Linked DNA regions of Homo sapiens: regions 1, 2, 3, 4, 6 and 7 are each linked to region 5. The links are contacts of gene promoters, found by promoter capture Hi-C in blood cells and fetal thymus (Javierre and others, 2016). All regions are on one chromosome and are shown on one strand. The core of a region is centred on a gene start or on the middle of the fragment in contact, and the rest is flanking DNA. Distances in the headings are between cores, read along the strand shown. Region 1 overlaps DPP6 (dipeptidyl peptidase like 6). Region 2 overlaps PAXIP1 (PAX interacting protein 1). Region 3 has its middle 18 kb from the start of SHH. Region 4 overlaps PAXIP1 (PAX interacting protein 1). Region 5 holds the start of BLACE (B cell acute lymphoblastic leukemia expressed). Region 6 overlaps PAXIP1-AS2 (PAXIP1 antisense RNA 2). Region 7 overlaps RBM33 (RNA binding motif protein 33).

Region 1 (3,566 bases), core at 1,051-3,550, 480 kb before region 5:
AAGATGAGATTTGGGTGGGGACACAGAGTCAAACCATACCACTGGGCTTCTGACATCTGCCCTGCATTTCTTTGCAGATATAAGGCATCCCGGTTCTCCGGGAACTTAGTGTTTTCAATACACTTCACCTACCTTCTCAGTCAGGTTTCCAAGCAGAACACCTGGCTCCCTGCAGTGCAGCCCCCTAACTCTGTCCCCTTGCCCCCGCATGTGCAGATGACCAAGGTAGCCCATCGAGTCTCCGCGCTGGAAGAACAGCAGTTCCTGATCATTCATCCCACTGCCGATGGTAAGGACTGAAAACATGAATTCACTGTGTATCTAGTAAGAGCCTCCTCCTTGATGGCACCATGGGTTTTAACAAATGTCTTCCTCTCTTTTTTTTTTTTTTTTTTGCACAGAAAAAATTCATTTCCAGCACACAGCAGAACTCATTACACAACTAATTAGGGGAAAGGCTAATTACAGCTTACAGGTACAGTACGCATGTTACTCTGTTTTGAACCTGGAGCAAGACATTCCTTTCATGGAGAAAGACCTGACGGGTGTTCAGGGCCTTCTACTGCAGCAGACACGCCTGTGCTGTGGTGGTCGGTGATGAGCAAGGTCCCAGCAGGTTGGAAAATCAGCACATGCTCAACGTTTTCTTATAATTAATGATAGCTCCGCTCTGTACTTCAGCCCGGTTTAAATCCCTTTAGGACAACCATCTCCCCGTACTCCCACCCCAGCCCTGCTCCCCTCCTCCGGGCAGTGAGAAGAACCAAGCCAGCACCCACCCTGCCCAGCAGTGTGGCTGGGGCTATCCCGCTGCGGAGAGTGGGACTGTTGTTCTGGGTTGGTGAGAGTGGTGCTGGTGGGCCCTGAGCCTTGCCCCACTGCTTCCCTCTGACCAACACCACATGTTACTACGCACTAGCAGGATGTCCTGGGGCCATCTGTAGCTAGGCAGTAGTGAAAGAGGGGTACCCTTCCCAGAACTGAACTCACTTTCCCACAACCAACCCGTGGCCCGTCCACAACAGCATCAAGTGCTGACCCAGCAGCCTCAAACCTGGGCTCTTCCCAGTAATGCACAGGGATGTCTCTGGAAACTTCTGCCATTTCCTTCCTGCCTTCTGCTCCTTTGGTGGAACAGGTATGACCCAATGGTCTCTTCAGGTCCAACATGAATGAATGGGAGAGCTCCTTGGGGACAGATGACAGGCAGGCACCCTGCCTCCCTCAGAGAGCTCTTGCCCTGGGCTGATCACTGCCTTGGCCTCCAGCATCCCTGCCTGTGGGAGGGAGGGACCACCTGTGGGCTTGATCAGGCAGGGAGAGCTCCAGCCAGAAGGGAGTTGGACCCCAGTGTGGATGAAGAGGGGCAGAAGGACGGGGTTACACCACACTTGAGTTCCCTTGTGAAAGACGTTCAGATTTCAGACTTTTTCAAAGTAAGTGTGGCAGTTGCATGGCAGTGTTAAGCACACTGACCATGGACGCTCCAAAGGTCCATGTGTATGTGTTCATGTGGGCAACTCCCCAAGATATGGGGCGAGCTGAACCCCCCAGGTACAGAGCAGCCTGCATCGCTGCAGGCTCCATGGGTATCAGGGAGCAGGACCCACCCAGGGACACACATGTGGGCACAGCAAAGGCCTTCACAGACACCCCATGCATCTGGAGCCAGGCCCAGCCCCAGGTAAGAGCACGGGAGACGGGGGCCTGAGGCAGGAGGAGAAAGCTTCCTGCCCATATCCTCTTGTACTACTTGATGTTTTAATGACATATCATAGCCTAATGACAGCATTAATAAATACTTCAAAATAAAGATGAATTTCACCCTCCAAAAACATACAAAGAAGGCAGGAAGAGGCAGTCTAGTGTCATAGAAAGATGTAGGTTTTGGGCCAGATGCAGTGGCTCACACCTGTAGTCCCTGCACTTTGGGAGGCTGAGGTGCGGGGATTGCCTTGAGCTCAGGAGTTTGAGACCAGCCTAGGCAACAGAGCAAGACCCCATCTCTACAAAAAGTTTTTAGAAAATAGCCGGACGTAGTCATGTGTACCTGTGGTCCCAGCTACACAGGAGGCTGAAGTGGGAGAATCACTTGAGCCCAGGAGGTTGAGGCTGCAGTGAGCTATGGTAACACCATGGCATTCCAGCCTGGGCGACAGAGTGAGACCCTGTCTGAAAAAGAAAAGAAAAAAATAAGATGCAGGCTTTGAATCCCTGCACGTGCACAGATGGTTCACGGTGCTCCTAGGAGATGGTGGCATCACCGCATTGGCAGTAGAATAATTAGCCATCATCCTATTGGCATCTGGGACCGAATGAGCCCACATTCCAGGCCTCATTCTAAGCACGGCACGGCTATAAGATTGTTTAATTCTCACAAAGTGTCATGAGCTGGAGTCTGTGATTATCCTCCCCACCCGACACACCTGGAATCCGAGGCTCAGGCAAGTTAACCTCCACAGTCACACAGGGAGTAGCCAGGACGCAAAATCTGTGGGGTGGGCCCGTGGGCACCCAGGACAGCACGCAGCCCTTCCACGGGAGTTTCCCACACTCAGAGTGTAACTGAGAGAGCATAGGAGTGTAATGGCGCGATCTCGGCTCACAGCAACCTCCGCCTCCTGGGTTCAAGTGATTCTCCTACCTCAGCCTCCCGAGTAGCTGGGATTACAGGCACGCCCCACCATGCCCAGCTAATTTTTGTATTTTTAGTAGAGACACGGTTTTACCGTGTTGGCCAGGCTGGTCTCGAACTCCTGACCTCAAGTGATCCTCCCGCCTCGGCCTGCCAAAGCACTGGGATTACAGGCATGAAATTCTATTTCTTTTCAGAGCCTGACACCCTGAAAACTTGGGCTGCGGCTCTGTAGTCCCTAAGCTTGTATCCATGTTGCAAATTCAAGCAAGCAGATCCGGACTGTAGAGTGTTGAATGAAGAGCTTCCCAATGTTTTCACCCAGTTCCCACTGAGCATTTGCTGTGCCTGGAGAGGGCCAGGCACCGGGGGCGTGGTGGTGTTTGAAGGCTGGTTGGCTTCACGAATGGGTGGTGCATGTCCACGCTAGGGGAGGCGCCCCTCTGACTGGGACAGCCAGGCAGATCTCCCAGGAGGAAGAGGCACTTCCATCAGGAGTGGCATGGTTAGCAAACCCACTTCATCAACTACAATCCAGCCCCGGACGGGGCCCAGGTTTCACTAAACTCCACACCTTCTGTGCGTTCCCGTCCCCTGGGGAGCGTATACCTGGGAGAGTAATTTCTCCGTGCCTTCCTTGCAGATTTACCCGGACGAAAGCCATTACTTTACCAGCTCCAGCCTCAAACAGCATCTGTACCGGTCCATCATCAACTTCTTCGTGGAATGCTTCAGGATCCAGGACAAACTGCTGACAGTCACAGCGAAAGAGGACGAGGAGGAGGACTAAGCTCAGGTCGCTCTAAGCACAAACGTGGCTCTTTCTACAACCAGATGCAACCGAGGGATTTCCCTGCCCTCCCTCTTCCCTCGGAGGGGCGGGGCGGGGCGGGGCCGGGTGTTCCATAGCATGTGTGTCTCGGATGCGGAA
Region 2 (3,162 bases), core at 1-2,500, 390 kb before region 5:
CCTCAGTGTCCGTACAGCTGGACTCCAGGTAGCTATCATTTCTGATCTTTCAGAACTTTGGAGGTTTTGTCCAGCAGCCATTAAATTACCCCGGACCTCAGGGGGCAAAATGTTACCTGGGACGGGTGGGACATTGGCACACAAGTTAATCAACCCAGGCTCCTTTCCCTGAGGCAGCCTGCGTTTTGCTGCAGCTAACTGTGGGACTTCGGCCGGGGTCCAGTTTAAATTTCTCTCCTGTTTTTCCGGTGATGAATCTGAAGAATCATCAAACATTAATTCCCCTTTAGATTTTTCAGTGTTGGATTTAGGTGAAAACTGCTGGTCACCTGAAGGAGACCCTTCTTGAGAGCTGGCAGGGCTTGACTTCTCATCTGTACTACCCTCATTCTGAGAATCTTGTTCCTCATTTTCTACTTCCTCCTCCTCTTCCTCTTCCTCTTCTTCCTCTTCATAAATAATCAGACGAGGATGATAAAATGCTTCGTCCTTTTTGGTTTTCTCTGATACGCAATCCAGAACCCAGTCAGGAGTCACAATTTTAATACTTGCTCGCTTTAAAGCACATTCGTATTTCTCCTACGAGGAAAGCAGAAACACACACAAAACAAAGCTGTAAATTTTATCACATTTCCTACAATTACGCATTTTAGAAAAAACTCAGTCAAGGAATGCAGTTGAAATGTTGAGCAACTATTATTACAATTTTATACAGAAGCAACGTTTGATCTTTTAGACAGAGGACATGAGGCAAAAGTGAAAAGGAACCATACAGCAGTGATCATAGGAAGGTCTCACACCTGTAGCAGGAGTCTTAAAAGACTTGGCTGAAAATTAACTTTTTAAAATGATATTTTAAGTACAAAAGTAGAGCTAGTAATCCTATGGAAAATTATGAAATGAATAATTGCTACCTAAGTTTTTACTGATTGATAATATTTAGAAGCTTGGTTTTCCATGACAGTTAGTAAAGTAACAGCGTGGCAGAGTGCCGCCAATGCATCACGTACACTCATGGAGCATGGCTGACTTGGCTGACTTGCATAGGACAGCTCTATTCAAGATCCAGTATTTATGGAGCTCATGCTATATGCCAAGCAGCACTAAGGGATGGAGACACAAAGGATGCAACAAGTCTCTGACCTAACAAGGCTCACAATTTGGTTCTAAAGAGATATTAAATACGGAATGCAAATACAATATAAAACCACTGCTGAATGATGCAGTAACAGACTGGAAGGGAATCTCATCAACATAAGCTGGAGGGCAGGAGGAAAGCCCCGTTGAAAGGTGAGCTTTGGCTGGGGCACAAATGATGACAATTTGCACAGTTAGAATGAAAGCAGAAAATACAGCCCACTGGAAAAGATGTGTCCGGAGTAGTATGTTCGGCAAGCTAACAGAGACCTCTCCTGTGGTAAAGGGTGTAGAATGTGGAAGGCACAGGGGAGGGAATAACAAAGAAAGAGGAAATAAATAAAAAATGTTAAATAAGAGTAATATGACAATAAAGTAACCTTAAAATAAATGAGTTGTAAATTTGGCTGTGCTCCTAAAAGCTTAACACATAACAGCAATTCTCTAGCAAACACATAATCAGGGCCCTAAACTAAACTCCGTGTCCTGTTGCAGAGCCCCAAGGTGGCATTTGCAATTTCTGGGTGGAATAAGAGTCACACGCAATAGGGATGCGGGGCAGCAGCACAGAGAGGACAGCTGTTGGTCATTCGGTCCTGGCAGCGAACGCCAGGCATTGCCCATCTGGGAGATCCTTGCAAATAGTGAGCTCTGCACACAGCTCAGTGACTTAACTTGTGTTTGTGAGTTTGTTCTTTCTCAAACCTTTTTAAAATATAAGAAAAACCTAGTCATGGGAGACACCCATGAATAAGAAGCTAAGCAAAGGAAAATGAATGTAATCATAATCACACTGACTAGAAAGGACCACGATTAACATTTTTAGGGTATAGTTTAAATTTATTTTTGTTATAAATATATATGTACATATATTAAAAGGGCAAAGGGAAAAAACATATAGTCATAGTGAACAAATACTTTATAATGTTCCTTTTTCACTTAATATATTGTGAACAACCTCTTCCTATGAAAACATGTATACTTTTATGCTTTTGTTTTTAACTTTTTAATGTACATTTTCGAACACAGACCAAACTTTTTAATGTACATTTTCGAACGCAGACCAAACTTTTTAATGTACATTTTCGAACGCAGACCAAATTAGAGACTAGTGGAATAAATCCCTTGTATCTGTCACCCAGCTTTAATAACTGGCAATCTTTTACAAATCTTGCTTCTCCTGAACTTTGTTTACGGATCTCAAATTGATAAAGACTTTCTAAACCACCATAATTATCATAGCAGCACAATGAACTATGATTCACCTCATCCTCAGGCCCTATTCAGATCTCCCCAGTAGTCTCAAAGGCTTTTACAGTTTCCTCTTCGGTTGCACAGCTGTGTACCTTAGTTCATCCCCCAGTGTTAGCCACGTGGTTGTTTCCAGTGTTTCACTACTATGAAAAACTGCAGTTATATTTTATGACAAATTCCTAGGTTTTGGTGTTGAGGTTTGAAAAGGAATAGATTTAAGGCTTCATATCTCTAACTACACTTCCCTTCCCAAAAAGGCTATTCCAATTACACTTCCAACAGCTATGTAAGAGTACATCAATTTACCTATACCCTCGACAATAAAATGTCTTATTCTTTACCCTAAAAAATCATGCTGTTCTTAAATATTTAAAAGCATAAAATGTTATATAGCTCTCCCCAGATGATAAATTTCTACTAGAGATTTTCAATTTCTGGACTACCCATTCCAGAAAAACCCAAGTTATTTTAGGAAAATATGAAGTCCAGGTACACAGCAGAATATTTATGAACCAATTAATACAAAAATATCATCTGCTTGAATAACATATGACTATATGTAATATGGTTTACATATGATTTTTCCAAGTTAAAAAGATATCTGTTGAAATAGTAAAATATGAAAAAAAGTTATTTTTAATTGTTTTAACAAATACCAAAAAACAAAACAAAACTACTGCCATGAAGAGGAGTCACTGAAAATTTTGGATATGAAAAAGATAATTTCACACTTAAAAGGCTGGGATCCAGTAGGCTCTTGAGTTCCTAGTT
Region 3 (3,369 bases), core at 371-2,870, 460 kb after region 5:
GCCTGTAATCCCAGCTACTCGGGAGGCTGAGGCAACAGAATCGCTTGAACCAGGGAATTGGAAGGTTGCAGTGAGCCGAGATTGCGCCACTGCACTCCAGCCTGGCCACAGAGCGAGACTCTGTCTCAAAAAAAAAAAAAAAAAAACCCAAAAAACAAACAAACCACTATCTGAGACTGGGGAATGTGTACAGAAAAGAGGTTTAATTGGCTCATGGTTCCACAGGCTGTACAGGAAGCCTAGCTGGAGAGGCCTCAGGAAACTTACAATCATGGCGGAAGGCAAAGGGGAAGGAGGCACTTCTTCCATGGCTGGAGAAGGAGGAAGAGAGCAAAGGGGGAGGTGCTATGCACGTTTAAACAACGAGACCCTGTGAGCACTCATTCACTATCATGAGAACAGAAAAGGGGAGCTCCACCCCCATGATCCAATCAGCTCCCACCAGGCCCCTCTTCCAACATTAGTAATTACAAGTAGACGTGAGATTGGGGCAGGGACACAAATCGAAATCATATCACCAGTCATTCCACTCCTGGGCATGTACCCAAAGGAAATGCCATCAATGCCCTCAAGAGCTGTCCACACCCATGTCCACTGCAACACTGTCCACAATAGCCAAGGTTTGGAATCACCCTAAGTGTCCACTGGTGGATGAATGGATAAAGAAAATGCAGTGTATGTGCACAATGGAGTACTATTCAGCCATAAAAAGCAGTGAAATCCTCTCATTTGCAGCAACGTGGATGGAACTGGTGAACATTATACTAAGTGAAATAAATAAGTCAGACACAGAAAGTCAAATATACATGATTTCACCTCTATGTGAAATCTAAGAAAACATGGAACTCATAGTATCAGAGAGTAGAATGGTGGTTACTGGGGGCTGGGGCCTGTAGAATGGTGGTTACTGGGGGCTGGGGGCTGGGGGAATGGGGCGCTGTTACTCAGAAGGTACAAAGTTTCAGTTATCATTGGAGGGTCAACGGGGAGCAGGGTGACTATAGTCGGTAATAAAGTATATCTGAAATTTGCAAAGACGGTAGATCTCAAGTGTTCTTAAGACAGGAAAATGGAAAGCGTGTGAGCTATTGGATGTGTTAGTCAGCTTGATTGTCATGGCCATTTCGCAGTGTGTACTTATACAAAAGACCATGTTGCACGCACTAAATACCTATGATTTTTATATTTCAGTCTTTCCTCCATAAAGCTGGAACACAGAGTGCCCACATGAAGCCTTCAGCACAGAGCCTTGCCTTGCACCCCAAGTCACTCCCGCACCTGGAGCACATGCCAGGCCAGGTGCCAGCAGGTGCACACCCCAGGGCTGCCCAAAGGCCGTCCCCTCCTTCCAGTGAGAAGGGGCCCACTCTCTCTTTCTCTCTGGTGGGCCTCCCCTTCTGACGCCAGTAACTGACTCGTCTCCTGGGCTAGTGCTGGAGGTGGCCTCCTTCCCAGAAGAGCTGAGAGATGCAAGGGAAGCCGGGTCCACGGGGTCCTACCCCGTCCAATGATGACCTAAGCTGTGCAGTCAGGCAGACAGATGCCTTAATGGGGCCCCAGCGCAGTCAGCAGCCGCACCTGGCACGTCCTCTGGGGATGTGGCACTTGGAAAGGAGTGACTCGTAGGAGGATGGGTAAAACACCACCCACTGTGCGTGCCAGGGGAGGAGTCCAAGGCCCTGGATCAGTGAGGCTCTCACCCAGTCCAGCCCTGCACGTCCTCCTTGGGAGGGGTGGGCAAGGGGGACGTGACCTCTGGCATCAATGTATCCACGTGCCTTACAGCAACAGCTCCATCACCACACCCTGCTGGCTGCCCTGTGCTGCCATTTCTGGGCCTCACTGATGCTAAGTTGGAGGATAGTCAGGGAGAGGCCACGTTTGCCAAGTGAAATTGGGAATTACATGAGCGGGACCAAAATCTGGAATTCTCTCTCTCTCTCTCTCTCTGTCTTTTTTTTTTTTTTTTTTTGAGATAGATAGGGTCTTAGTCTGTCATCCAGACTGGAGGGCAGGGTATGATCTTGACTCATGGCACCCCTGACCACCTGGGCTCCAGCCATCCTCCCACCTCAGCCTCCCAGGTAGCTGGAACTACAGGCACGTGCCTGGTTAATTAGGTGGCAGGCTAATTTTTGTGTTTTTTTAGAGGTGAGGTTTTGCCATGTTGCCCAGGCTGTAAATCTGGAATTCTCAGTCAAGGTGGAGGACCTGAGAGAGCTGGGGACATTTGGGAGGGAGGAGTGGGCTGAGCGTGCAGGGGGCAGACAGGGATGGGGTAAGAGGCGGACCCCGGCAGTGAAGTCAGGTTCCGAGGCGAAGGAGCCATCCCGAAATTACCCAGATGAGAAATCTTGTTTCCGAAGCGCCTCTGCGTTCCGGGCACCAAGGGAGAGTGAGTTCTGACCGGGTTGTCGGGGGGTCAGGGACTCTGCCCTCAGCCACTTTGGCTGCTGGTTCTGCCGAGCCACTGCCCGAACAGCACCCCGGATGCACCCGAGGAGGTGAGGCTCTGCGGACCGGGTGCCCTGTGAGTGACAGGGGAGAGGCCCCTGAGGTTTGCACAGTGCCTGTCACTTCTCAAAGCACCTCCTTCGTTCTGGCAATTTAGTGAGGGAGGCTGGGCAGCCGGGGCTGTCCATTTTATAGAGGAGGACACCAAGCCTCAGGGAGGGAGAGGGAAGCCGGTGGAGCCGGGCAGAAGCCTGTGGAGCTGGGTAGAGGCCGGCGGGTTTCCCAGCAGCGGTCTTCTGCATCTTCTGGCTGAGTCCTCCGCTGTCAGGAGACCCCGGCCTGGGCCAGGAGGTCCGATTCTGGGATGCGAACGTGGTGGGGCTGTTGCCATAGATACCGATGTGGTCACCAGCCTGAAACCCTTGAGCCACGGAGAGATCAGACGGTGGTCCCCACTCCTCAGCCTGGAGCCTGGCAGAGACGCTCAAGGAAGAGGGTGGGCTGACCGCGCACGCCTCTCCTTTCTTCATATCCTGCGCGGCTCGGGCGCTGTGCAGGAGGCCTGTGCTCAGCGAGGAGAGAGACAGAGAGTGCAGTGGGAGGAGCGCGGGGTCGGGGGGCTCTGCTTCCCACGGTGCGCCTGGGAGCCTCTTTGCCTCTTGGGGCCTCAGTTTTTCCAAATGTAAAACCAGGGCAGCCCTTCAAGCCCCTGGCCAGTGACACACAGAGACGAGTAGATAAGGACACCAGGGCAGACTGTTCCGAAAGCGGTGAGCCGGCCATTTCAGCGCTGGTTCTGCATGGACTTTCCTCCTATGGAGGCTGGAATCAGCTGGTGCAATCCTTACAATTCTGGTGGGAAAATTCCATCAGGCCTTCTGCAAACACACAAACTGTTTACCCTCACACACCCCA
Region 4 (3,488 bases), core at 599-3,098, 410 kb before region 5:
AACATGGTTCCTGGCCTATACTAATAAGAAAGCAAGTATCTAAGTATGAAATAATAGCACAGAACAGGGCAGGAAGCCACTAAATATTTAGTTATTACTATAAATACTACTAAAAATACTTCATAAATATGCACCATAAAGACTGTTATAACTATCTAAACTATGTAAGTTAATAAAACTGCTGATCTGAAGTAAATATATACAAAAAAGGACACTGCTAAAAATCCTTGTACGAAGTAGATGAAATTTCACCTTAATATACTGTTGAACCTGGACAGGCTCGAATCCAGTGAAAAGCACAAAAGGGGTCAATTCTGGAGTTAGCTTTTTAGTGGGAGGTGGTACGTCTTCAATTCTGTGGAAGAAATACACATAAAATAGTAGTGATTTCATATTTACTTACAATGAAAATTTTCTTTAGAAAACAAGGGATTTCATTAGTTTAACAAGCTTTAACTGCATGTGGTTTTTATTCTTAAAGGAAAAATACAATGAGCTATCTGTCCTTCCTTTCTTTCCACCATTTCCATAAAGTCACCTTCCAAAAAAGACTACCTTTGAAGCCTCCAAGGGAGGCATCCAATTCACTTTTGGTTAAGATCAATACTTTCTTCTTCATCAATCCCCTCCTGATTAATTTTTTTAATTGGCTTTCAGAAGAAAGCAAATATCAAAGTTGCTTCTAAACATCACTGATTTTGCTAGCTCTATCACTTCATTTTTTTCTATCAAGTTTTTAAGATAACCTTGTGTGACTCAGGCCATTCCTTGTTTGCACGTTCACCATCAATACAAGTCAGCCAAGACGAGTGTCGCTAGAGCTTCCAGTGTCTTTCACATTCTAGCCCTCTTCAACCACAAATTATAAAAACGTGGCTCTGCTCAAGCACACGTTTTAAATTAAACCTTTTTGTTTTTTACATGAATTTTTTAGGTCTTTTTTTCAGGTTATTATTTTCTGAGACAGTCCAATAAAAATTTATTTTAAAATGTATTTGTGGTAATTTGATGACAGCCTCAAAAAAATCACATAATTAGGATTTTATTACAAAAGTCAACAGTTCAGTTTGTGTTCTGGAAGTGGGGAATGGAAGGAGGGAAAGAGGAGGAGCAGGGAGAGAAAAGATGAGGAACCTGGTAACTGCAAAAAACAATTCAAGCAGTTATATTTCACCATGTACAGTCTGGAAAGAAGAGTTTTCTAGAATCAAGGAAGAAAATAAAAGCTCTGTTAGTTTGCTCCTGCATTTGCTATGCCTTTCTAATTAAATGATTGGAAGGACTTCATTATTGACTCCTGCTGGCCGACATGACACTAAAATGATATGCATCTCAATCTGCATACTCCAAGCCAAAACCCAACATGCCATATGCATTGCACATGTCCTTCCAAAGGCTTTGGGTCTGGATCCTCCTTCCCACCGTGGCCAACATTGCTTTGTCCTCATCAAGAACTGGCAGATCCAAGGAGCATACCCAAGATGACGCCACAGCCTACATGCTCTCTCGGCACCTACATGCTCTCTCGGCACCTACATGCTCTCTCGGCAGCCTACATGCTCTCTCGGCAGCCTACACGCTCTCTTGGCATGTACAGCAGGTTCTTCAGCCGTGCCCAGGAGGCCTGGGGCTCCGTGGTCTATCTCTGAGCTGGGTTCTAGACCTCCCACCCCACTTCCACCACTGCAACTTCTGTTTTACATGTTGGAAAGGGGCTTCTTATAATATGCCACTTAAAGAAAAAGACTGAATTTTTTTAAAATAAAAAATATACTGGCCTATGTCATTAAAATGAAATATATCCCAATAAAGTTGTAAAGCAAAAAGCAAACTCTTTCAAATCTTATTTACTGCAAAACATTTTAGAAACTTTCCTCAATTGCCACCGATTTTCCAAAGCAGACCTGTGAAAGCCAGCAATGAAAAATTTAAGGTTATTACTCATACCTGGCTCTTTTGGAAGAAGGCTGGACATTAGCTACTTCATTCTGTTTCAGTTTGGGAGGTAGTCTTATACTCTGCAATTAAAATATTGTCGACTTTAATTCAATCAATCTACTAAGTAATACAGTAGCTTCCAGAAGATTTATGTGTCAAATAATCAAACTACTTAAACATATACAAGAATCATGTTCTTCTTCACCACATCAGAACTAGTCTTCACCTCAAAAGATCACTAGGACAATGCAAGTGGGGAGAAGCAGCTAATATTCCGGAGAGAACCTCTGTATCGTTTTTTTGTTCTTTTCTTTCCCTCTTTATTCACAAAATCCTTTCAGTACTTTAAATTATCTTTGTTGCTTTTTTTCCTCCATGTTATATATATGCAGCCCTCAACCTTGAACTTCTCAAAATGGTTTTTATTTCAAATATTTTGTCCTGTGTCCCAATTTAGAATGTGGAAAACATGGCCGGGCGCGGTGGCTCACGCCTGTAATCCCAGCACTTTGGGAGGCCGAGGCGGGTGGATCATGAGGTCAGGAGATCGAGACCATCCTGGCTAACAAGGTGAAACCCCGTCTCTACTAAAAATACAAAAAATTAGCCGGGCGCGGTGGCAGGCGCCTGTAGTCCCAGCTACTCGGGAGGCTGAGGCAGGAGAATGGCGTGAACCCGGGAAGCGGAGCTTGCAGTGAGCCGAGATTGCGCCACTGCAGTCCGCAGTCTGGCCTGGGCGACAGAGCGAGACTCCGTCTCAAAAAAAAAAAAAAAAAAAAGAATGTGGAAAACATGATTGAAATTACACCTCCACCCTAAAAGACTATTCCTAAAAGAGAAATTTCACCTATGAGATTTCACAAAAGATGTTACATGACAATCAGATCAACACTGCTACCAACAGCCAGACAAGGTACCAAAACCTACACTCTGCCTCAGCAACATGGTCACATCCACTAGGACCAGCTCCAGTCCCTGACCCTGGAGCAGAAGCCATGCCAAGCACAAAGAGAGCAGGAAGGAGATGGGATTCCCTTGTGGGGTCCCTACCACAGTCAGCATCTCCATTCTACCCTATTCCTTGTTGACTCCTCCTTCATAGTTTCAACTCAGAGGTTCTTTGACTTGTGTGGGCCAACCATGTCTTTCCCAGGTGTTTTATTACTTGAAGGAATTGCTCTCAATCTTATTAATTTACTTCAACTACAACTTATTTTTTCTAAATATTGCTGCCATATCTAGACAACCAAAATAAATATATCTACAGAAAGCATTCAAAATCTATTAGCCCTGTCATACATAGAGAATCAAGCTTTATAATAATTTGCAGGAAAGTTTATTACTTTCCTATTATAGCCTTTATAAGAAAGCAATTTCTCAACTCTATTTCCAAAGATCGCATTTAAGTCTCCAAATTGTCATTCATTGGTACCAAGAATAGAAACAAATGGTGGGATAGGCAAAAAGGATAAACTGGGCCTCTTTGTCTCTAAGATTTTTAGCTTTTAATTACTGATACAAAGCCACAAGAGAAGCTGACATTTGGGGCC
Region 5 (3,199 bases), core at 407-2,906:
ATGACTCTTAACGAGCATGCTGCCTTCAAGCATCTGTTTAACAAAGCACATCTTGCACCGCCCTTAATCCATTTAACCCTGAGTGGACACAGCACATGTTTCAGAGAGCATGGGGTTGGGGGTAAGGTCATAGATCAACAGGATCCCAAGGCAGAAGAATTTTTCTTAGTACAGAACAAAATGAAAAGTCTCCCATGTCTACTTCTATCCACACAGACCCGGCAACCATCCGATTTCTCAATTTTTTCCCCACCCTTCCCGCCTTTCTATTCCACAAAGCCGCCATTGTCATCATGGCCCATCCCCAATGAGCCGCTGGGCACACCTCCCAGACGGGGTCGTGGCCGGGCAGAGGGGCTCCTCACTTCCCAGTAGGGGCGGCCGGGCAGAAGCGCCCCTCACCTCCCGGACGGGGCGGCTGGCCGGGCGGGGGGCTGACCCCCGCCACCTCCCTCCCGGACGGGGCGGCTGGCCGGGCAGAGGGGCTCCTCACTTCCCAGTAGGGGCGGCCGGGCAGAGGCGCCCCTCACCTCCCGGACGGGGCGGCTGGCCGGGCGGGGGGCTGACCCCCCCACCTCCCTCCCGGACGGGGCGGCTGGCCGGGCAGAGGGGCTCCTCACTTCCCAGTAGGGGCGGCCGGGCAGAGGCGCCCCTCACCTCCCGGACGGGGCGGCTGGCCGGGCGGGGGGCTGACCCCCCCACCTCCCTCCCGGACGGGGCGGCTGGCCGGGCAGAGGGGCTCCTCACTTCCCAGTAGGGGCGGCCGGGCAGAGGCGCCCCTCACCTCCCGGACGGGGCGGCTGGCCGGGCGGGGGGCTGATCCCCCCACCTCCCTCCCGGACGGGGCGGCTGGCCGGGCGGGGGGCTGACCCCCCACCTCCCTCCCGGACGGGGCGGCTGGCCGGGCAGAGGGGCTCCTCACTTCCCAGTAGGGGCGGCCGGGCAGAGGCGCCCCTCACCTCCCGGACGGGGTGGCTGGCCGGGCGGGGGGCTGATCCCCCCACCTCCCTCCCGGACGGGGCGGCTGGCCGGGCGGGGGGCTGACCCCCCACCTCCCTCCCGGACGAGGCGGCTGGCCGGGCAGAGGGGCTCCTCACTTCCCAGTAGGGGCAGCCGGGCAGAGGCGCCCCTCACCTCCCGGACGGGGCGGCTGGCCAGGCGGGGGGCTGATCCCCCCACCTCCCTCCCGGACGGGGCGGCTGGCCGGGCGGGGGGCTGACCCCCCACCTCCCTCCCGGACGGGGCGGCTGGCCGGGCAGAGGAGTCCTCACTTCCCAGTAGGGGCGGCCGGGTAGAGGCGCCCCTCACCTCCCGGACGGGGCGGCTGGCCAGGCGGGGGGCTGATCCCCCCACCTCCCTCCCGGACGGGGCGGCTGGCCGGGCAGGGGGCTGACCCCCCTCCCCCCTCCCGGACTGGGTGGCTGGCCGGGCGGGGGGCTGACCCCCCCACCTCCCTCCTGGACGGGGCGACTGGCCGGGCAGAGGGGCTCCTCACTTCCCAGTAGGGGCGGCCGGGCAGAGGAGCCCCTCACCTCCCGGACGGGGCGGCTGGCCGGGCGGGGGGCTGACCCCCCCCACCTCCCCCCCGGACGGGGTGGCTGCCGGGCGGAGACGCTCCTCACTTCCCAGACGGGGTGGCTGCTGGACGGAGGGGCTCCTCACTTCTCAGACGGGGTGGTTGCCAGGCAGAGGTGCTCCCCACCTCTCAGACGATGGGCGGCCAGGCAGAGACGCTCCTCACTTTCCAGACGGGGTGGCGGCCGGGCAGAGGCTGCAATCTCGGCTCTTTGGGAGGCCAAGGCAGGCGGCTGGGAGGTGTAGGTTGTAGTGAGCCGAGATCACGCCGCTGCACTCCAGCCTGGGCACCATTGAGCACTGAGTGAACGAGACTCCGTCTGCAATCCCAGCACCTCGGAAGGCCGAGGCTGGCGGATCACTCGCGGTTAGGAGCTGGAGACCAGCCCGGCCAACACAGCGAAACCCCGTCTCCACCAAAAAAAAACGAAAACCAGTCAGGCGTGGCGGCGCGTGCCTGCAATCACAGGCACTCGGCAGGCTGAGGCAGGAGAATCAGGCAGGGAGGTTGCAGTGAGCCGAGATCGCAGCAGTACAGTCCAGCTTCGGCTCGGCATCAGAGGGAGACCGTGGAAGGAGACCGTGGGGAGAGGTAGAGGTAGAGGTAGAGGTAGAGGTTAGAGGTTAGAGGTTAGAGGTTAGAGGTAGAGGTAGAGGTAGAGGTAGAGGTAGAGGTAGAGGTAGAGGTAGACGTAGAGGTATCCTTTAATCTTTCTAGGACAGGTACAGTGGCTCATGCCTGTAATCCCAGCACTTTGGGAGGCCGAGGTGGGAGGATCACTGGAGGCAGGCGGATCACTGGAGCCAAGGAGTTCAAGACCAACCAGGGCAACATAGTGAGACCTTGTCTCTACAAGAAGTTTAAAAAATTAGCCAAGCATGGCGGCGCATGCCTGTAGTCCCAGCTACTTGGGAGGATGAAGCTAGAGGATTGCTTGAGCCCAGAAGGCAGAGGCTGCAGTGAGCAGTGATCACACCACTGCACTCCAGCCTGGGCGACAGAGCAAGCTCCTATCTCAAAAAAAAAAAAAAAAACAGATAATCTTTCTAGGACTTGATTTCCCAGGCTCCATAATGGCAATCTGCGCAGGCAGCTTCTGGCTCTGAGTCTTCCTGTTTCTGTGGTGCCACTGCCAGCACAGGGAGGTCATTCTGTATCATGTCACTTGCTTGGTGTTTTACACCCATGGATGATGAAACAGCAACTGCAGCCTGGAGTGCTGGGAGGCAGAGAGAGTCTCGCTTCCCAGGCCATCTGGCTTACTGTGAAGGCCAGAAGCAGCACAGCCTCTCTTGGTCACCAGGGATCAGGACTCAGGTGGAGAGGGTGGGGCAGGGGCTGGCAGTGGAGACAGGTCCACACTGGGAACCAGCTGTGCCAGGCAGTGTGGCCCTGAAGCCCCTAAGGTGTGTCAAGAGGGGTCTTTCAGGAAATGGTTAGAGAGTGCAGGTGTTGTGTTTCTCTCTGACATGTAAACATATGTCTTTCTAGACAGGCAGGTCTCCCTATACCTGCCTTACGTGGGAAGCACGTCCGCAGGAGAGGTGCCACCCAGTGCCTCCAGCACTGATCAGGCCTTTCTCAGGTGTTGGGCAGGGAGAGGCAGAGCCCAAGAGAAGCCTC
Region 6 (3,436 bases), core at 624-3,123, 430 kb before region 5:
GCAGGCTTTGAGTGTCTTTGGCTTTTCCAGGTGCATGGTGCAAGCTATCAGTGGATCTACCATTCTGGGGTCTGGAGGATGGTGACCCTCTTCTCACAGCTCCACTAGGCAATGCCTCAGTGGGGATGCTGTGTGGGGGCTCTGACCCCACATTTCCCTTCAGCACTGCCCTAGCAGAGGTTCTCCATGAGGGCTCCACCCCTGCAGCAGACTTCTGCCTGGACATCCAGGCGTTTCCATACATACTCTGAAATCTAGGTGAAGGTCCCCAAACCTCAATTCTTGTCTAATGCACACCTGAGGGACTAACACCATGTGGAAGCTGCCAAAGCTTGGGGCTTCACCCTCTGAAGCAATTGCCTGAGCATGTATCTTGGCCCCTTTTAGCCGCAGCTAGAGCTGAAGCAGCTGGGATGCATTGCAACTAGTCCTCAGGATGCGCACAGCAGGGGGGCCCTGGACCTGGCCCATGAAACCATTTTTGCCTCCTAGACCTCCAGGCCTGTGATAGGAGGGGCTGCTGCAAAGGTCTCTGACATCCCCCAGAGACATTTTCCCCATTGTCTTGGTGATTAACATTTGGCTCCTCGTTACTTATGCAAATTTCTGCAACTGGCTTAAATTTCTCCCCAGAAAATGAGTTTTTCTTTTCTACCGCATTGTCAAGCTGCAAATTTCCCAAACTTTATGCTCTGTCACCTCTTGAATGCTTTGCTTTAGAAGTCAAAATTCTAAAACAGAATTCTAAAGAAATTTCTAAAGTTCAGAAATTTCTTCCATCAGATACCCTAAATCATCCCTCTCTAGTTCAGATATCTAGGGCAGGGGCAAAATGCCACCAGTCTCTTTGGTAAACTATAGCAAGAGTCAACTTCATTCTAGTTCCCAACAAGTTCTTCACCTCCATCTGACACCACCTCAGCCTGGACTTCATTGTCCACCTCACTATCAGCATTTTGGTCAAAACCATTCAATAAGTCTCTAGGAAGTTTCAAACTTTCGCATATCTCCTTGTCGTCTGAACCCTCCAAGTATCTAGGAAGTTCCAAACTTTCCCACATTTTCCTGTCTTCTTCTGAGCCCTCCAAACTGTTTCAATCTCTGTCTATTACCAGTTCCAAAGTTGTTTCCACATTTTTTGAGTATCCTTATAGCAGCACCTTACTCTGTGGTACCAATTTACTGTATTAGCCTATTCTTACACTGCTATAATGAACTGCTGGAGACTGGGTAATTTATAAAGGAAAAGGTTTGACTTATACTTCCACAGGGCTGGGGAGGCCTCGAGAAACTTACAATCATGGCAGAAGTTGAAGCAAACACGTCCATCTTCACATGGTGCCCAAAAGGAGAAGTGTTGAGCAAAGGGGAAAAAGCCCCTTATAAAACCATCAGATCTCATGCGAACACACTCACTATCATGAGAATAGCATGGGGGTAACTGCTCCCATGATTTATTTACCTCCCACCAAGTCCCTGCCCCAACACGTGGGGATTACATTTCAGGTTACAATTCAAGATAAGATTCGGGTGGGGACACAAAGACAGACCATATCAGGTTTTGAACACAAGGTTTAAGAGAAGTTTAAAGAAAGTCCTGTGGAAGAGCTAAATATGAATTCCCAACAGAATCTCCCCTTGGCCAACCTCCTTGTCATCAGTTCACTGGCTAAACTAGTGCTCTGCATTTCCTTGTTTTTAAATTGTGATGAAATATACACAATACAGAACTTAACACGTTAACCATTTTTAAGTGTACAGGTTTGTTACTTTTAAGTGCATTCACATTGTTGTGCAGTCATCACCACCTCATCTCCATTACTTTTTTCATCTTAAAACTGAAACTCTATGCCCATTACATAACTCTCCACGCTTCTCCCAGCCCCTGGAAACCACCATTCTACTTTCTGTGTCTTTATATTTGACTACTCTAGGAACCTCATGCAAGTGGAATCATACATTATCTGCCTTTTGTGACTGATTTCTTTCACTTAGCATTATATTTTGAAGTGTAGGATAAATCATACACTATGTGTCTTTTGTAACTGATTTCTTTCACTTAGCAATATATTTCAAAGGTTCATCCATGTTGTAGTGTGTGTTAGAATTTTCTTCCTTTTTAAGGCTGAGTGATATTTTTAAGGCTGAATGATATGCCCTTGTATGAATAGAACACATTTGTTTATTCATTCATCTAATGATGAACACCTGGTTTGCTTCCACCTTTTGTCTATTGTGAATGCTGCTACTATAAACATGGGCTTACAAATATCTTGAGGAGCCCCTGCTTTCAATTGTTTTGGGTATATACCCAGAAGTGGGATTGCTAAATCATATGTTGATACTATTTTTAATTTTTTGAGGGCATGCTATACTGTTTTCCATTTTACATTCCCAACAGCAGTGCACACATGTCCAATTTCTCCAAATCCTCACCTACATGTGTTATTTCCTGCTTTTTTTTGACAGTAGTTATTCTAATGAGTGTGGAGTTGTTAGGGTCCAGCCTCAACGCCACCCACGGGTACCCAAAGTTTGGTGGCGGCAAAGGAATGAGAAGAGACAAGTTAAGAGTGAAAGGTGGGGAGCTGGGGGCCAGTGCAAAATGTGGAGGCTGCAAAAGGCTCAGAGCTCTGGTTTCCACACTATTTATTGAGTACAATCACTTAGATCTGAGAAGCAGGGGTTCAGGGGTGAAATGGGGAAAGGCAGACAGTGCGTTATACGTGTAATGTATAGCAGTGGCGGTTTAAGTGAATCTCCTTTGTGCTCAAATAGTATATCTTTAGTTACTTGTTGGGACCGGGCTTAACTAGGAGCCTGCATATCTAGCCACATTCTAATGCTTCATAGGAGTGTCTTTCTCCTTGAACACAGTGTTTATGGATAAGAGAGCAAGTCTTGCTCAGAGCATGGGAACATAGTGGCTATAAGAAGGCTTTCTTCTTCAGAGGCCTCTTGTGGCTTTCCGCAACTTATTGTCTCATATTTTTATGGCCAGTTTATGCAGGCACCCCATAAGCCTTTCTCCCAACATGGAGTGGTATTTTATTGTGACTTTAATTCACATTTCTCTAATGATTGGTGACACTGAGCTTTCTTTTTTTTCATGTGCTTATTGTCCATTTATATGCCTTCTTTGGAGAAATGTCTATTTCAAGTCTCTTACCCATTTTTTAATTAAGTTGATTCTTAGCTGTTGAGTCATAGGAGTTCCTTATATATTCCAGATATTAATCCTTTATCAGATATATGATTTGCAAACATTCTTTCCCATCTGATGGGTTGCCTTTTCACTCTGTTGTCTTTTAATATATAAACATTTTACATTTTGGTGTAGCCCAATTTATATTTTCTTTTGTTGTCTATGCATTTGGTGTTGTATCCAAGAAGTCACTGCCAAATCCAATATCATGAAGCTTTTCTATGTTGTCTT
Region 7 (3,225 bases), core at 590-3,089, 410 kb after region 5:
CACTATTTTGGATATATTCTAAAGTGGACCTGAGCTATTTGAGCAAATAATGATAGGGCATACTCAGACATTTTAGCTACCTTTTATACCTACGATTTCATGTCACATTTACTAATAGAATTAAGGGAAATAGAAGCCCGTTCTTTCTTACTGCCCCTGGAGGGAGCATGGCGCTAGGGCTCTCAGCCTCCTAGAAGGAAGGGACTAAGGAGACGGGCACAGACTTGCGTCATCTCGTTTCCACAGTTGACGTTTTATATTACTTTCTCAAATTAAGTTACCAAAACAAACTGAAGAGCTGAAGCAGGTCTTCCAGACCCTGCGATCCTTTCTGTAGCAGTGATTCTAAAGTGGCGTTTGCTGTGTGCTTGAGAGTAACACTGCACGCTGCAGGGGCTGTTGCAGCAGTCAGTCCCAGGAAGCCACAGCGCTTGTAGGATCTGCTAGGACCCTGCAGCTGTGCTGCCGCCACCTCTGCTCCAGAGTGTCCCAGCCAACCCTCGGAAGATGGGATTGCCAGTCAGCCCTGCCTCACCATGCCTGCAGGAGGCTGTCCAGGGAGCAGGTCTGTGTGCCCATCAGCAGGTTCCCATGGCTGTCACTGCCCACTCATTTCCACAGTTAGATACGGATGTGTTGATGTATTTCGTCTAGTTTATTTGGCTCAGTCCACAGCTGCGTTGGAGTGGTGACTTTGGTAGCCCTTGAGCTCTAATTAAGAGAGATCCAAACCACTCAGTACCCACTGGGCAGTGGGAAGGCCTACCGACTTACTTTATCATTGAGGGCTTACTGATACAATGAAATGAGTTTCATGACTTTTTTTTTTTTTAAACACTTTTTGAAATAGAGTGTGCTGTGTTTAAAACCAAAAATATGCATGTTGTCTCTGAAAAGTAGGCATTGAAACAGACTTTTTTGTAGTCAGTGTTAATAAAACGGATCCTGTTTGGGCCTTCATTGTTAAGGTGGACTTCATGGCCACTGGAAGGTCTGTTTTGGTGTTACCTGAGTGTGACACAGGCCCTGGGGTGTGCGTGTTTCTCTAACTGTCTACACGTGCACATAGGCAGACTTTCTCATAGAATGTTCTTGAAAGGTGATTGGCAAAGTCATGCAGGCCCGCCTTAAAGCGCTGATTAGAACAGTCCAACACAGTCCGACCTCACTCAATACCCACAACCATCGAAAATGGATTCTTAGTACCAGACAATCCCAGTAATGAAGGTTTAGTTTCCTTGAAGGAAACTACAGAAAAGGAAAGAAGCAGAATGAGAAAGGAATGGTACTTAGGTGTTTGGTATGCTGCTCACGTGAAGTCAGCCCACACCAGCCAAACCCTCGTGGAAGATCTGCTGCAACCATTATCTTTGTTCTTGAGTTCATCATGCATTTAAAATGAGATGCAAGAGCATTTAGCATACCATGTAAATATGGACCTTTTAAAATTAAAATACTATTGGAAGTGCTTTCAACTCAGCCACATCTTAGCTATTAGTTCTTTGTGTTGTCTTATCAAAGTTTAATGGATACAGTTCCACAGTTGTTGATGTGTTTGTGTGTATATTCGATTTTTATAAAGATGGTAGTAAGTCAATACATTTATCCTGATCTGTGTATTATTTGTTCACAAATTCAAGAAGCTTAAAGGTCGTAAATATCAGTATCTCATAAGGTAAACCAATAGCTGATTATGTGGAGCCAAGTTACTTCTTTTCTTTTTGCATTATCTTGTTTTGGTTTTGTGCTGTAATAGAAGTTCACTTAGCTACTTTAGATAACCTTGCATTACCACTGGTCTGGCCACGTTTGTTAAATCCTTATACTGATATTCTTCTAAAGAGTAAATCTCATCATTTTTCCAGACAAATTTTGAGGGGTTTCTCTGTTTTGTGGACAGGCAGCAGCCTCCGTAGGCACCCGCACCCTGCCTTGCTGGAGGAGATGGGATGGGGCGGGAGGTGGCTTCACCATAACTATTTTTAATATGGGTCATTCTTAGCATGATTTGTAAAGGTCTCAGGCAAACAGTTGTTGAAGCTTGCTTCTGTGGCATTTCTGAATTGTGGCAGAGCTTAGATCCTGCACCCAGGGGTCTTTTTTTCAAACAGCATCTTGCTCAGTTCTGTGAACAGAAGGCTTTGTTACTGAAGGAGGTGGAAGAGGAGTTTAGGGTGAAAAGGAGGAAGGGATGGACAGACCCAGGTGAGGAGAGGCCTGGGGATTGGGGAAGCTGTCATCTCAGTGTTAATAATCAACTTGCTTCTAACACACTGGCTTATCAGGGGAGGTCATCCAGTCCGGTCGGTGGAGTTGAGAGCCCTTGGGCCAGGGTGTTTGGCGGCACAGGGGCATCCGCTGGATGGCCTGGAGGAGTGGGGGAGGGGAACGTCTTCACTGGGTGGTGATCAGCTGGGACAGTTCAGGTAGGGCAGGTGAGGGACCCCCGAGGCCCTGGAGCCTTGTCCTGGGATGGGTTTGAAGAACTCATCACTCATCACTTGTTTTCTTTTGGCTTTTGTTGTTTTTGTTTTGTTCTGTTTGTTTTGTTTTGTATTTCTTTGTTATTTTATTGGGAAGGTAAGCGGAATGTGCTCATAGACCATCAGACGCTTGTCGAAGGCAGGTCCTAGTCATGTAATTGCACAGGACAAGGAGGTCAGCGTGTGTGATGGCAGCATGCTGTGCCGGCACATCGTGGAGTCCTAGAAACTCTCTAGTCCCTGCGGCTGTTCCCCTCCTCTGCTCTCTCCCTGGAGAGGACTGCCAGCTCTTAAGAAACATTCCTGGTGCGGTGTCTGCAGTGCCCTTTGTGGGTGACTTCAGGCTTCCCGCTTTCGTGGTGCTCTTCCTGGGATTCGTTTTTTTATTACCCTCCCTCCCTACTTGTAGGCCTCAGCTATGGCTTGACGTAATCGCTTTTAGACCCAGGTTGGCTTCCCTTCATTAAGCTATGATCCTCCACCCCATTTTTTTTTTTTTTAATTTGGAGTGGGAGGGAGGGGGGTGGGCGAGAGAAAGCTCGAAAGGTATTATTGGTTTTTCAAAAAATTAGAGGTGACGATTCTACCAGGGAGTTGACTGATAGGAGTGTGTGCAGGGCAGGAAAGGTTCGGAGGCACCCGACTACCACCACTCGGAAAGCCGCTAGTCCAGATCGACTAGGGAGAGGCTTAGATACTTTAGTGTATTTAAAGAGCATTTCAGTTAACTTTTTCAGCTATT

What was found. Contacts are between HindIII fragments. The CHiCAGO score rates a contact against its expected background, and 5 or more counts as called.
Region 1: a contact is called between a fragment that was not itself captured here and the fragment with the promoter of BLACE in region 5, in 5 of 17 cell types (naive CD8 T cells, neutrophils, total CD4 T cells and 2 more). The highest score is 7.0, in naive CD8 T cells.
Region 2: a contact is called between a fragment that was not itself captured here and the fragment with the promoter of BLACE in region 5, in 3 of 17 cell types (monocytes, megakaryocytes and M0 macrophages). The highest score is 6.0, in monocytes.
Region 3: a contact is called between a fragment that was not itself captured here and the fragment with the promoter of BLACE in region 5, in 1 of 17 cell types (neutrophils). The highest score is 5.1, in neutrophils.
Region 4: a contact is called between a fragment that was not itself captured here and the fragment with the promoter of BLACE in region 5, in 14 of 17 cell types (neutrophils, megakaryocytes, total B cells and 11 more). The highest score is 13.9, in neutrophils.
Region 6: a fragment that was not itself captured here is called in contact with the fragment with the promoter of BLACE in region 5 in 12 of 17 cell types (monocytes, megakaryocytes, total B cells and 9 more); the score reaches 8.9 in monocytes.
Region 7: a fragment that was not itself captured here is called in contact with the fragment with the promoter of BLACE in region 5 in 1 of 17 cell types (fetal thymus); the score reaches 6.6 in fetal thymus.

The regions. Positions count from the first base shown.
Region 1 is chr7:154,889,056-154,892,621 of GRCh38, forward strand. DPP6 (dipeptidyl peptidase like 6) reads left to right here. Exons shown (of 26, transcript NM_130797.4): 24 at 217-289; 25 at 402-475; 26 at 3,279-3,566. The coding sequence ends at 3,425. Among named protein-coding and RNA genes, the nearest start is that of PAXIP1-AS2, 38 kb to the right of the region's middle. The HindIII fragment of the contact is 1,152 bases long and covers 1,725-2,876 here.
Region 2 is chr7:154,975,753-154,978,914 of GRCh38, forward strand. It overlaps PAXIP1 (PAX interacting protein 1), which reads right to left. Exons shown (of 21, transcript NM_007349.4): 6 at 1-579. Among named protein-coding and RNA genes, the nearest start is that of PAXIP1, 26 kb to the right of the region's middle. The HindIII fragment of the contact is 613 bases long and covers 945-1,557 here.
Region 3 is chr7:155,828,679-155,832,047 of GRCh38, forward strand. No RefSeq gene overlaps it. Among named protein-coding and RNA genes, the nearest start is that of SHH, 18 kb to the left of the region's middle. The HindIII fragment of the contact is 4,824 bases long and covers 1-3,369 here.
Region 4 is chr7:154,955,277-154,958,764 of GRCh38, forward strand. PAXIP1 (PAX interacting protein 1) reads right to left here. Exons shown (of 21, transcript NM_007349.4): 14 at 1,948-2,018; 15 at 253-355. Among named protein-coding and RNA genes, the nearest start is that of PAXIP1-AS2, 29 kb to the left of the region's middle. The HindIII fragment of the contact is 2,800 bases long and covers 449-3,248 here.
Region 5 is chr7:155,366,277-155,369,475 of GRCh38, forward strand. BLACE (B cell acute lymphoblastic leukemia expressed) reads right to left here and starts at 1,657. Exons shown (of 6, transcript NR_103545.1): 1 at 1,533-1,657. The region is part of intron 2 of LOC105375593 (a long non-coding RNA gene); the gene reads left to right. The HindIII fragment of the contact is 7,901 bases long and covers 1-3,199 here.
Region 6 is chr7:154,934,282-154,937,717 of GRCh38, forward strand. The region is part of intron 2 of PAXIP1-AS2 (PAXIP1 antisense RNA 2); the gene reads left to right. Among named protein-coding and RNA genes, the nearest start is that of PAXIP1-AS2, 7.5 kb to the left of the region's middle. The HindIII fragment of the contact is 3,088 bases long and covers 330-3,417 here.
Region 7 is chr7:155,776,230-155,779,454 of GRCh38, forward strand. It overlaps RBM33 (RNA binding motif protein 33), which reads left to right. Exons shown (of 18, transcript NM_053043.3): 18 at 1-3,225. Among named protein-coding and RNA genes, the nearest start is that of SHH, 35 kb to the right of the region's middle. The HindIII fragment of the contact is 397 bases long and covers 1,642-2,038 here.